Regions from separate parts of the Homo sapiens genome. Here regions 1, 2 and 3 are each linked to region 4. The links are contacts of gene promoters, found by promoter capture Hi-C in blood cells and fetal thymus (Javierre and others, 2016). All regions are on one chromosome and are shown on one strand. Each heading gives the region's core, a stretch centred on a gene start or on the middle of the fragment in contact. The rest is flanking DNA. Distances are from core to core; before and after follow the strand shown.

Evidence for each region. The method cuts DNA at HindIII sites, captures the fragments that hold promoters and counts their contacts. A CHiCAGO score of 5 or more calls a contact.
Region 1: a contact is called between a fragment that was not itself captured here and the fragment with the promoter of ACOXL in region 4, in 4 of 17 cell types (neutrophils, erythroblasts, total B cells and 1 more). The highest score is 8.5, in neutrophils.
Region 2: a fragment that was not itself captured here is called in contact with the fragment with the promoter of ACOXL in region 4 in 7 of 17 cell types (total B cells, total CD8 T cells, naive B cells and 4 more); the score reaches 9.9 in total B cells.
Region 3: a fragment that was not itself captured here is called in contact with the fragment with the promoter of ACOXL in region 4 in 4 of 17 cell types (neutrophils, naive B cells, erythroblasts and 1 more); the score reaches 8.5 in neutrophils.

What each region holds. Positions count from the first base shown.
Region 1 is chr2:111,718,047-111,721,496 of GRCh38, forward strand. No RefSeq gene overlaps it. Among named protein-coding and RNA genes, the nearest start is that of MIR4771-2, 51 kb to the right of the region's middle. RefSeq lists an enhancer at 2,166-3,060. The HindIII fragment of the contact is 3,818 bases long and covers 94-3,450 here.
Region 2 is chr2:111,637,296-111,640,460 of GRCh38, forward strand. No RefSeq gene overlaps it. Among named protein-coding and RNA genes, the nearest start is that of MIR4771-2, 130 kb to the right of the region's middle. The HindIII fragment of the contact is 168 bases long and covers 1,628-1,795 here.
Region 3 is chr2:111,685,084-111,688,056 of GRCh38, forward strand. No RefSeq gene overlaps it. Among named protein-coding and RNA genes, the nearest start is that of MIR4771-2, 85 kb to the right of the region's middle. The HindIII fragment of the contact is 5,700 bases long and covers 1-2,973 here.
Region 4 is chr2:110,731,241-110,734,609 of GRCh38, forward strand. ACOXL (acyl-CoA oxidase like) reads left to right here and starts at 1,333. Exons shown (of 18, transcript NM_001142807.4): 1 at 1,333-1,534. LOC124906064 (a long non-coding RNA gene) reads right to left here and starts at 1,185. Exons shown (of 3, transcript XR_007087181.1): 1 at 1,114-1,185; 2 at 596-664; 3 at 121-395. The HindIII fragment of the contact is 3,688 bases long and covers 20-3,369 here.

The DNA.
Region 1 (3,450 bases), core at 753-3,252, 990 kb after region 4:
GAGTTTGCATTGTTCCAGATGCTTTCTCCTGAATTGTGGGAAATCTCCCAAAATTGCTTCACCAAAATGTAAAGGCTGGGTTTGTAAAATTGAAGCTTGATTAAGAATTGACAATAATGAAGCCCACGATGACTGAAGGAATTAGCAAAGAGATGGCTGGAATAAGGAGTTACAGCCCAAGCAAGACAGGGAGGCTATGGAGAAAACTTGACATTTGAAGACTATGTGCCCTTTTCATGTCAGATGCAACAGAAGTTTTTGTTTTTGTTTTTGTTGTTTTTTGGGTTTTGTTTGTTTGTTTGTTTGAGATGGAGTCTCGCACTGTCTCCTGGGCTGGAGTGCAGTGGCATGATCTCAGTTCACTGGAAGCTCTGCCTCCCGGGTTCAAGCGATTCTTCTGCCTCAGCCTCCCAAGTAGCTGGGATTACAGGTGTGTGTCACCACACCCGGCTAACTTTTTGTATTTTTAGTAGAGACAGGGTTTCACCGTGTTAGCCAGGATGGTCTCGATTTCCTGACCTCGTGATCCGCCCACCTTGGCCTCCCAAAGTGCTGGGATTACAGGCGTGAGCCACCGCGCCCCGCCGCAACACAATTTTTTAGTGAAGAATTAGGTTTTCATTTTCAGAGGCATTTCAAATAGCAAGGAGAGTGCACATTGCTTGTATTATATGATACATCACGTTTTCAAGGGTATCTGCTGGCTGGGCATAGTGGCACATGCCTGTAATCCCAGCACTTTGGGAGACTGAGGCAGGAGGATCGCTTGAGGCCAGGAGTTTGAGACCAGCCTGGACAAATAGTGAGACCCTGTCTCTACAAACAATAAAATATTAGCCAGATATGGTGACCACTGCACTGTAGTCCCAGCTACTTGGGAGGCTGAGGTGGGAGGATTGCTTGAGCCTGGGAGGTGAAGGCTGCAGTGAGTTATGTTGGTGCCACTGCAGTCCAGCTTGGGCAGCAGAGCAAGCCCCTGTCTCAAAAAATAAAAAAAGAATATCTGAAATGTTGTGGGGGGGAAAGCCTATAGAGTAAAAAATTAAAGTTCTTTACTCTCCATCTGTGCCAATGGTTTAGTGTGCAATCTTACAGAACTTTATATATTTGCATACATACAGATAAAAATCTGCTACATATATCATTCCATCACTTACATTCTTTATTTAACAATTTGTCGTAAAGATTGTTTTTTAGCCATGTCTGGCTAATTTTTTTCATTTTTTGTAAAGACAGGGAGGGGCTCACTATGTTGCTCAGGCTGGTCTCAAATTCCTGAGCTCAAGTGATCCTCCCTCCTCAGCCTCCCAAAGCTCTGGGATTACAGGCCCAGGCCACCTTGCCCAGCCTGTCATAAAGATCTTTTAATAAAAGATCTTTAATTGCTTCTTTTAATTGCTGGCTGCCTCCACTGAATCACTTACCGAAGCCCTGAGAGGGAATCACAGTTCGCAGGTGATTGGGATGCCGGGGGACGCACCTGAGGGCTGGGCTGAGTTTCACTTAAAAAAAGGTCCAGGCCAGATGAGGGGACATCAGATCACTCAGTGGCCTCCTTCTCACCAGATTCTGTCTGACTCTCTTCGGGGCTGAGCTAAAGGCAGATGCTGCATTCAAATTCCATATCCTTCCAGCTGGAGCTCCCCATTCCTAGAGAAACCTCAGCTTTGTGTCTCCCACGGAGACACTAGAATGGGCAAGCCTGAGTGCGTGGCTTTGAGGGACAGAGTCCCCACCCACAGAGCTCTCACAGCTGGCAGCCACCCCGACACCCACAGCTCTTTCAGAATGGAAAGCCCGGGGCCTTGCAGCTCGCCCTGCTCCGAACACTGTGCGAGGCTTTGTAATGAGCTACCCTGGAAGTGTTTTTCAAGAAGACGGTGATCTCATTACACAAATCCACCATCAGTTGAGGGAAGAGAGGCAGGGCTGGCTTTCTAAGGCCACTGTATATGACCTAAGGAGCCCACATTGCCAAAAAAATAGTCACCCACTGATTTCAAACACCCACTTCTTTGCATGAAGGGCTGCGTTCCCCTCATCACCACCCCCACCCTTTTCATCCCTGGTACAGCTACCTCCAGCCATTCCCCCTAGGGGTCTTCCCTGGGACTCATCTGCCACTTGTTCCTCCTCAGCTGGGGTCACCAACCAAGTTGGGAACAAGTTATTCCTCCTTAATAACAAGAGGCAAAGCCCTATCCAAAAACAGGGGTCTGCCTTATTCACTAAATCCAGTTTTCAAAAAAAGACCCTCATCGGACTCATTTATAAATGATTTAATTTTAGGGATTGCTAGCTAGATGAGTAGATAGGAAGGATAAGAAGCTAAGTATGGGAGAAGAATGTGCAAGAATAAGGTGAAAGAATGTTCTCCATTCACAATGCTGTTTACATGCATCCAGCTGGCTGGCAACGCCGCTGAGCACTCAGCCTTCAGTGGACCTTCCAAACCATGGCAGGCACTCGGAGTCCACAGGGACGCAAAGGACCATGCTCTACCTCTCAGTAGGCTGTGTAGGCCAACCACTCTGGAATCCACAGGCACCAGTCACCAGCCCCACCCTCACCTTCGAGCCAGGCTCCTGTGGTCACCGTCTCATGGTGATGGCAAAAAGCTCCTCTTTTGCTCCCTGTGACCCCCTGCCCCCTCTTTGGTGTGGCTGGGGGCAGGAGGGAGGCCCTCACTGTGCTCTGGCCTCAAGGTAGAGTAGCCACAAGACAATCACCCTGTCAAACTTCAGCGGAGTTCCCGTGTGCTCTTCTGGTAAAAGGGCTTCTTTGTAGCATTGAGCTGTATATGCAACGTATCCTCTTGTGTGTGAGTGTGCATGTGTATGAGTGTGTGTGTGCCTGCGTGTGTGTGTATGTGTGTTAGAGATACACACATATAGGCCCCAGGAAGGAGTGAGGAAGGGGAAAGAAACCAGCATTTATTGCACTATGTATAAATTTTCAAAATTCATCCGTGACTAACACAAGAAGCTGTGTCCCACCTGAACAGGTAAACTTGCGTAGTTATTTCAGAACAGCAGCCCCATCTCCATCCCAATCAGGGTAATATTTTCCACTGAACTGAGTCAATAAGGTAAACAAACCCATTTGCCCAAGAGGCAAACAACAAGGTAGGTTAGAAACATAGCTTTCTGGATACTGCTCCTAGTGAAAGCATCTGGCAAAAAAAAAAAAGAAGAAGGAAAAAAAAAGCATTTCAAATGAAACCCAGGGGACAAATACCTTTAAAAGTTGCAAAGGAGAAAGGCGTCTACACAAAGCAGCATGTTCCAGGATTCCCCATTATTTCAGGACAGACCCATTCAAGGATCAGAGTGGGTCTGTGAACTCAGAGTGACCGTGCCTCACCCCGCCTGGCCCAGCTCTCTCTGAGTGCAGTCACAGGCCTTCCCCACCAGAAAAATCCATCAGCTCCTCTTCAGGCTTCACTCGGGG
Region 2 (3,165 bases), core at 462-2,961, 910 kb after region 4:
GAGGCTGCAGTGAGCTATGATCATGCCACTAAACCTCAGCCTGGTGACACAGTAACACCTTGTCTCTAAAGTTAAGAAATAAAAATAAAATTTGGGGATTCAATCCAGTATCTATGTGGGACAAAACAAAGTTTAGATTCCTACCTCACACCATACACACAAAAATGAATTTTAAGTGAATTAAAGAACAAACATAAAATACACACTATAGAAGCATTACAAAAAAACTGTAAGATCACATTTTGGTAAATCTAGAGTAGAGTAGAAATGCAATGCAACAGCTATAAAGAAAAGGACTACATACATATCTCAATTATGTACAACAACAAAAATAGAGTTTGAAAACAACAGATTGGAACAAAAAAATTTGCAACACACATTGTCAATAAAGAATTAGTGTCCAAAATTTATAGGCAATTTCATAAGAAAACAGTAATAATCCTCTTTTTAAAATAGGAGGATGTGGATAGGCAATTTACACAAAGAGAAACCCGCACAAAGTAGCTAAGAGGATACCCAACCTTGCTAGTCCCTGCACTAAGGGCTACCACCTCCAACTGGCTGTGGGGAAGAAAGAAGGAAGAGGCAATCACAAAGTCTTGGACTTGAACTCTTTTAGGAGAATTGCAAAACAGTGATGAAGGAAAAGAACTTCAGTGGGTTAAAAGGAGGCATTATCCAAAGATATCTACCACCAAAATCTGAATCTTGACTTAAAGGTCCTCTATGATTTACCAGAAGTTGTGCCTCAAAATTTCTGGAACTTTGAGAGAAGCACAAATTCTTTTATGTTTCCATCTGCACCAAAAACAAGATCACACATTGTTTTCCTTTTTGGATCACACATTCCGAAGCCAATCTTAGGTATACTCTTCAAAACTCACCCACATGTCAATCAGGCACAAGGCTTTTTTCTGGCAAAAAGCACCCAGGTCTTCTTCCCAGGCATGCAACATAAAACCTAGTCAATGTCTTAGAAACTACAAACCCAGGCTTACCCACAAAAACACCACCCCTGGGGGCCCAAGCCAGCAGAGCCCTGGTGGAGAGCTCTCAACCATGTGATGCATTAAAAGCTAAGCTAAGGGGCAGAATTACCAGCTAACAATCAAGAGAACATCAGGGGATATGGACCAGGACGGGGGATGACATGATAGTTATATTGGTATTCACAGCAAGTCACGTGGCACCCGAGGGCATGACAGCCTGCCTTAGAGACGAGCACTCACCTTCATGAATTACCACATTTAACCATCCTATTGTTTTAATTGTGATAAAATACATGTAACCCAGTAGTTCACCATCTGAGCTATTTTTAAGTGTACTGTTCAGTGGCATGAAGTACATTCACATTATTGTGTAACAATCACCACCATCTATGATGGGTTTCATCATCCCATTTGAAACTCCATACCCATTAAACATTGGCTCCCTACTCCCCTCTCCCTGCCTGCCCCTGGCAACCACCATTCTACTTTCTGTCTCTATGAATTTGACAACTCTAGATACCACAAATAAGTGGAAGCATATAGTATCTGTCTTTTTGTGACTGGCTTATCTCACTCAGCATAATATCCTCAAGGTTCATCCATGCTGTTGCATATGTCAAAGTGTCTTTTCTTTTTAAAGCTTAATTGTTTTCCATTTTATGGACATACCACATTGTTTATCCATTTATCCATCTATGGACACTTGTGTTGCTTCCACCTTCTGGCTATTAAGAAACCATCCTATTTCCCATGGCATTCAGAAGATTCCACAGCCTTCTAGTAATTCATTGCAAAGCCTTGCAGTAAGCTTTGTTTTTCCCAAGTTAGTCTCATGTCTAACCTAAGTCCTCTGTGTTGTCGTAAGGCCGTCTATTCCTTGTGTTCACTGAAGGCTCTGCCTGGCTCTACCACTTACCAGTTGAGGGCCTTGAGCAGCAGCCTTCGCCCTCCACCTTTCTGCACCTTAGTTCTGTCATTGGTAAAAGGGAAAATCCTCGCAGAGCTTTGGGTAATCCTAAGAGAGCTAATGCACATACAGCACCTGACCCTGGGCCTGACACATAGTAGGGGTGCAATATTGGTATCACACTGAAAGAAGCATGATTTGTAGATTTTTTAAAAGTTGTCAATCTTCTGTACTCAATCTAAGTTCTTTGAACTCTTTCAGATGCCATGTTTTCTAGTCAAGCCCGCAGGGGTGTGTGTGTGTGTGTGTGTGTGTGTGTGTGTACATGGACACATGTGTGTTGCCACTGAGCCACTTTCACACAGATGCCAGCTGAGGCATCCATTCTCCCTTCCTTCCACAGGCTGGCTCAGAGCTGAGATGCAGGGCCATGCTGTCAGAGCCAGTCAGTCTGAGGGCACAGATTAGCATAATTTCAGCCACCTCGAGGATCCACATCTCTCCACATCTCACCACCTAAACATCCAGAAACTCCCTCTCGGCTAGTGCTGAAGGAAGAGAACTTCAGTCAGCCTCTCCCCTCTCTTCCTCTTCGCCTTTGGGGCAAGTCTTTCCTCGAGATGAGGGAGCTCTCAACCCCAAGGCCAATGCATTCTGAATGAGGATGATGATTGTGATGGTATGGTAGGAAGAATAGCTGCCCTACAAAGATATCTGCCTAATAATTCCTAGAACCTGAGTATAAAGATATTACGGGTTCCAGAATAATAGGTTACTGGTTATGTGACAAAAAGGAATAAGGTTGCAGAAGGAATTAAGGTTGTTAATCAGCTGACAGAGTGATTACTCTGGATTACCTAGTGGGCCCAACTGAATCACCTGAGCTATTAAAAACAAAAGAGGGATCAGGCATGGTGGCTCCTGCCTGTAATCCCAGGGCCAAGGGAGGCCAAGGCAGAAGAATTCCTTGAGGCCAGGAGTTCAAGGCCAGCCTAGGCAACCCCATAGTAAGACCCCACCTCTACAATAAAAATAAAAAATAAAAAAAAGATAGAGCAGCAGAAGAGTTGGTCAGAGATGTAATGAGAAGGGCTCAACCCACCATTGTTGGCTTTGAAGATGGGGGAAGGAAGCCACAAGCCAAGAAATGTGATGGCCTCCAGAAGCTGGGAATGGCCCTCAGTCTACAGCGAGCAAGAAAATGGAGAATTCAGTCCTACAACCACACGGAACTGAGTTCTGCAAATAACCCAGATAAACAAGGAAAGA
Region 3 (2,973 bases), core at 132-2,631, 950 kb after region 4:
CGCATCCACCCCTCTTAGATTCCAAATCTCTTGCACCAACAAGAGCCCGGGCCTTTCTAAAGGCTCACCCAATTAGGTCAGGCTCACCCAGGATAGTCTCTTTTCTTTACAGTCAACTTATTTGGGACCTTAACTACATCTGCAAAATCCCTTCATGGCAGCACCTCAATTCGTGTTTGACTGAACAGGTGGGAGAAGCCGTGTGTAAGCCAGGGGGACAAGCATCTTCGGCACCATCTTAGAAGTCCACCTACCACAGTGGTTTAGCCTTGGTTCACAGGCCTCATTGTCTTCTTTATTCCAAAAGAGCAAGAAAGGTTCCCTTTCTTCTAATTATTTCAATATGCTAGAAAATGAAACTTATTTTGGAGCTGACAATCTATTCTGTGGCCAAATTGGCAAAATTTCAGAGACCAAATAAGATCTAGCCTACTCTGAAACCTGTTTGCACAGGGCCTGGTCTTAAAGTATCTTATCAGTTATTGCTATCATCAGAACAGCAGGGCACCTCCAGAGAATTCAGGCCCCATCCCAGACCTGCTCTTCCAGAATCTGCCTGTCAACAAGATTCCTGATCATTCATATGCACTTTCAAGGGTTTTTTGGGGGTTTTTTTCTTAATTTTTTATTATAGGTTATTGGGGAACAGGTGGTGTTTGGTTACATGAGTAAGTTCAATAGTGATTTGAGATTTTAGTGCACCCATCACCCAAGCAGTATACGCCGCACCCAATTTGTAGCCTTTTTTTTTTTTTTGAGACGGAGTCTCGCTCTGTCGCCCAGGCTGGAGTGCAGTGGTGCGATCTCAGCTCACTGCAAGCTCCGCCTCCCGGGTTCACGCCACTCTCCTGCCTCAGCCTCCCGAGTAGCTGGGACTACAGGCACCTGCCACCATGCCCAGCTAATTTTTTGTATTTTTAGAAGAGACGGGGTTTCACCGCATTAGCCAGGATGGTCTCGATCTCCTGACCTTGTGATCCGCCTGCCTCGGCCTCCCAAGGTGCTGGGATTACAGGCGTGAGCCACTGTGCCCGGCCCAATTTGTAGTCTTTTATCCCTCACTCCCTTCCCATTCTTTCCCCGAGTCCCTAAAGTCCATTGTGTCATTCTTGGGCCTTTGCATCCTCGTAGCTTAGCTCCCACTTATGAGTGAGAACATATGATGTTTGGTTTTCCATTCCTGAGTTACTTTGCTTAGAATAATAGTCTCCAACGTCATCCAGGTTGTTGCAAATGCCATTCATTCATTCATTTTATGGCTGAGTAGTATTCCATTGCATACATATACCACAGTTTCTCTATCCACCCATTGATCGATGGGCACTTGGGTTGGTTCCACGTTTTTGCAATTATGAATTGTGCCGCTATAAACATGCATGCCTGTGCACTTTCAGGTTTGAGGAGCATTGGTGTCAACCACATGCCCGAGGACCAGAAATAAGTCATTTTTCTCTGGAAAATGCACTGAAGACGTGGTGAAGATTAAACAGCATGTCACCCCCTCCTCCACACAACTCACATTCATCCCTGCCCAGGCCAAGCCTTGGTAATGGATTAGGTCTATCCTATATCTAGTGTTATGGTTTAAATGCATGCGTACCTTCAAAATTCATATGTTGGAACCTAACCCCCAAGGTAATGGTATTAAGAAGTGGGGTCCTTGGGAGATGATTAGGCCACGAGGGCTCCACTCTAATGGATGGGATTATGCCCTTCTAAAAGAGGCCTCAGAGAGCTGCCGCCCCCATTTTGCCCCTCTACCCTGTAAGGACACCAAGATGCTGCCATCTATAAGGAATAGGCTTTCACCAGACACTGAACCTGCTGACACCTTGATCTTGGACTTCTCAGTCTCCAGGACTGTGAGAAATAAACTTCTATTACCTATAAATTACCCAGTCTGTAGTATTTCTGTGGCCTAAACTAAGACATCTAGCCAAGCTAGAGGACTCTCTTAACTTAGGCAATATTTCCCTAAAATCATTCCCATGTCCTGTGTTGCAGGCCTGAAGCTGGTGACTGAGGTGAGGCAAGTGCAGAGCTGACCCAGTGGGCTGGTTAGGGACCTTCTCTGTGACCCGGCGTAATAAGCACTGCCCTCACAGGGTCATAGGTGAAGCAGCTGGCATGGAATCAGTGCCCAGAGCAGGGCAGAGAGAGAAAGGAGAGTATGACGAGGCCACCTGCTCACTGAATAACTTCTAACAGCTTTCCAAGTCATCTGAGGCTGGTGTTCAGCTCCTCTTTCCAGCACATCTTCTGCCCCAATTAATTCTGGGACCCACCATGTGTCCAGAGAAACGGGCACTCTGGGAAGCAGCCTCTGTCACTGGCCCCTTGGGCCTCTCATCATTACTCCACAGCTGTCTGCATCAGGAACCACAAGTCCATTATTGGGAGGCAGGATGCCTGCACTCTGGAAGCAGCCCTGGGTTCAAATCCTTTCTCACCGCTTTCCAGCCATGTGATAGTTTTGGCACAGTGCTGAAGCTCTCTGACTGATATTTTCCTTGGATACCTAATTCTCTTGGTTTGGCTTTCTCTGCCAGATGGTCATCACTGCCCAGGGCTAGGAGGGCCTTGGTTTTCAACTGCAGCCCCAACTTCTGGTGCTCACTGGGGTCACTCAGGTACACTGATTGATAGAGGAACACTCTCAAGGGTCTCAGATCAGCACTTAACAGTATCACTTCAGCTCACAGCGAATTGGCCAGGACTGGTCACACTCTCCACCCAGCCATGAGGAGCAGGAGGTGCCAGCTGCCACACTAGGAAGTGGAGACTGTCCAGTGAGCACTGCTTATAATTGATGGAGAATGTGAGGATGGTCTCAAGGCCTCCAAAACCCCCCTTTTGGCCTCCCACGTTCTCAAAGCATTCTGAGACGGCAGGACATGATCTGAGGTGCCCTGGAGCCCTCTCTCTAACAGCAGATTTTCTGATGGATAACGAGGGGGCAGGGGTGTGTGTGGA
Region 4 (3,369 bases), core at 83-2,582:
TGGGGCTTTCCTACCACCAAGCTTCCTGTGATGTGAGAAAACAAAGCCCCTTTTATCATGGATGACTGGGTATTATTACTCGCAGCTGCACAGGTGTGGTAGACAGAGGAATGACTCGCCAAAGGTGCTCATGTTTTAATCCCTAGTACCGGAGAGTGTGTTTCTGATATGGCAAAATGGACATTGCTGGTGTGATTAAAGTATGGATCTTGTGGTGGGAAGATTATTCCCATTGACCATGGATTATTCCCATGGGTCCCATGTAAACAAGTCCAAGGGAGGCAAGAAGGTCAAAGTCAGTAGAAGATGGAACGATGAAAGCAGAGCTTGAAGTGATGCATTTTGAAGACAGACGAAGGGGCCAGGAGCTAAGAAATGCAGGCAGCCTCTAGGAGCTAGTAAAGACAAGGAAATGCATTTTTCCCTGGAGCTGTGAGAAGGAACCCAGCTCTGCCAACACCTTGATTTTAACCCTGTAAGTCCTATTTTGGACTTCTGACTTCCAGAAATGTAAGAGAATAAATTGGTGCTATCTTAAGCCACTCACTTTGTGGGAATTTGTTACTGGAAACGAATACAGATGGCATCCACTAACCTCACGACAGCAGACCACACCATCATCTCCCCAGCAAAGTAGCCTCTGGAAGGGAACGGCTAACATTTCCTTGAGTATTTAAAAGGAGAATCAACAAGGTATATGAGAATTAGGGAGCAGAAAGGAAGGAACATTTTCCACTTAGGTTATAACTCATTTTCCTCCAGCCACAACAAAAAAAGGAGTGTCCTGGGAAATGAGTATCGTGTTCCGGTCGATCACCTCGTCATGAATGCAGCTTCCAGCTACCCTGGACTGCAGTGCTGTAGACCTGGGACGCCTTTAGATTACCGTGATATTAGAGTTCACAGTAATGCCCAGTGCGGGGAAGAGGTGAGATACAGCTGAGGAGGGGCCAGAGCTGGAGCCAGGCTATCTTGGGTCGTGGGGGTCAGGCAAAGTGGCTGGCCGGGAGATCTGCTGAGTGGGTCAGCCGGTCAGTCCTGAGCAGCCGGGCCTCTGGTGCCCAGGTCCACGTGACTGGCACCCTTTCTAGGGGTCTAGTACTTGTTTCTTACGGCTCACAAATCTTGAGGGACAGTTGATAACTGGAGGGTAGAGTTTTCGCTTCCTCGGAAGGGCAAGGGGAGGCCACCGTAGAAGCGCCCGCTCGCGCCGGACCTCCCGCCCGGGAAGCCAGGGCAGGGCGGGGCCGGGGAGGGAGGGGAGAGGAAGGTGAGGAGGGAGGAGACGGGCCGGGAGGGGTGGAGAGGGAGAGGGCGTGCGCCTGGGGCCTCACCTGCTGGGAGCTGGAGGAGGCGCGGAGCGAAGCCGGCCCTGCCAGCCACGCGGAGAAGCAGAGGCAGGTGAGCGCGATGCAGCCGGCGCCGGGTCTGGGGCTCGGGGACTCCTCCCTGCACCGCTACCTGGACGGCGACTTCTGGAGCCTCAAGAACGAGCTGCGCGGACTCCTCGGCGGCGCCCGCTCTTCCGGCAAAGGTACCGCGCTGCGGCCGTCGCCCCTGCCCGCGCCCCCGAAGCCGCCGAGCGTGTCCCCTCGGTCCCCGGAGCGTCGCTGCGGACAACGCCCTGGCGAGGGCGAGGTGGGGTGTGCGCCGCGCCTGAGAGGCGGGTCCCTGCCTCGCCGCAGGTGACGGGCTCCCCTCCCCAGGTGTGTGGGCGCAGCCGGCCGCCGCCGACCTCTTCGGCCCCCTGAGAGGTGCCCTCTCCTCCCGAGCTCCCTCCCCCACGAAGAGTCGGGTGCAGGGCTGGGCCCCGCGGTGACAGGCGCGGTGTCTACGAAGACCGTGTGGCTGGAAGATCGGCCTTGCTGGTTTGTTGAACCTGTTTCTTGAGTCCCCGCCCCGCGATGTCCCACCCTTGGTGGGGAGAAGGGGACAGAAAACCGCGATGGGATGGGCGCACAGGGATGGAGTGGCCCTGTCCAGGGCGTGTCTGGGCGTCGGGGTGGGACAGGCTTACAGGACCCCCTCGGAGTGCAGGTGTGCGGAATGGGCAGCTTCAGCGGGGCGGTTTGGTTATAAGAAGAACTCAGGTCCTCGATGTCATCCGATGCCAGGACAGCCCTGAGAAGCAGGCAGAGGGTTGAGTGCTTGAGCTGCACTGGAGATAGAGAGATGGTTCAGTCACCGGACAGTCAGGACCAGAACTCGGCATTCGTGTCTCCTGTGGGCTCTCTTTCTCATACCCATTTCAAGCAGTCTGAAAAGCCCAGTTGGAGGCATGCTTTGGAGTTCTAGCTTAAGAAAGGCCCTATTAAAAATGTCAGTATGTGCCCGTGGAGGATTAATTGGTTAGCCATGCCCACTTAGCCCTCGTTTAATTTATTTTGCGGAAATGAGAGGGAAGGAGATGGCTTGAGTGAACGTCAGGCTGTCCTTGGAGAATCTGGGGTTCCTGCACTGAGGTTACCTAGTGGGGAGTTGGGGGCGTTTGAAAGTTGAAAAGTGAGAAGTGTGGGATGGTGGGTATATCCATCAGTGTCTCGCCGACTTCTCTTTCCCTCTCTCTCATACATAGTTCTTTAAGTTATGGTTCTCAAAGTGTGGTACAGGGAGCCCTGGGGGGACCCAAGAGCATTTCAGGCGGTTCATGAGTACAAACTGTTTTTATAGTAATACAAAAAAAGTTATTAGCTTTTTCACTCTCATTCTCTCACTAATGTACAGTGGCAGTTTCCAGAGACCACATGATGTGTAGTATTCCAGCAGAAAAAATATAGAAGCAGACATGAGAATACAGCTGCTTTCTATTAAGACAGACAGTAAAGGGATTTGTAAAAATATAGAACGATGCTACTCTTCTTGCTAACTTTTTTTGTTTTGGAAAATAGTTATTTTCATAAAATACACTAATAGATTTATTAGTTATTTTCAAATGAATTAATAAACATTTGAAAACTTTTCTGTTTTAATTTCTAATACGGGAAATATCAGTGGATATAACCCACCCAAATAAAAGCTCTTTGGGGACCTCATAATTTTTTTTTTTTGAGACGGAGTCTGACTCTGTTGTCCAGGCTGGAGTGCTGTGGTGTGATCTCAGCTCACTGCAACCTCCACCTCCTGGGTTCAAGCGATTCTCCTGTCTCAGCCTCCGGAGTAGCTGAGATTACAGGCACCCACCACCACGCCTGGCTAATTTTTTGTATTTTTAGTAGAGATGGGGTTTCACCGTGTTGGCCAGGCTGGTCTTGAACTTCTGACCTCAAGCGATCCGCCTGCCTCGGTCTCCCAAAGTGCTGGGACCTCATAATTCTTAACAGTGCAAAGAGTTCCTAAAATCAATGTTTGTGAACGGCTGCTTTAAGTCAT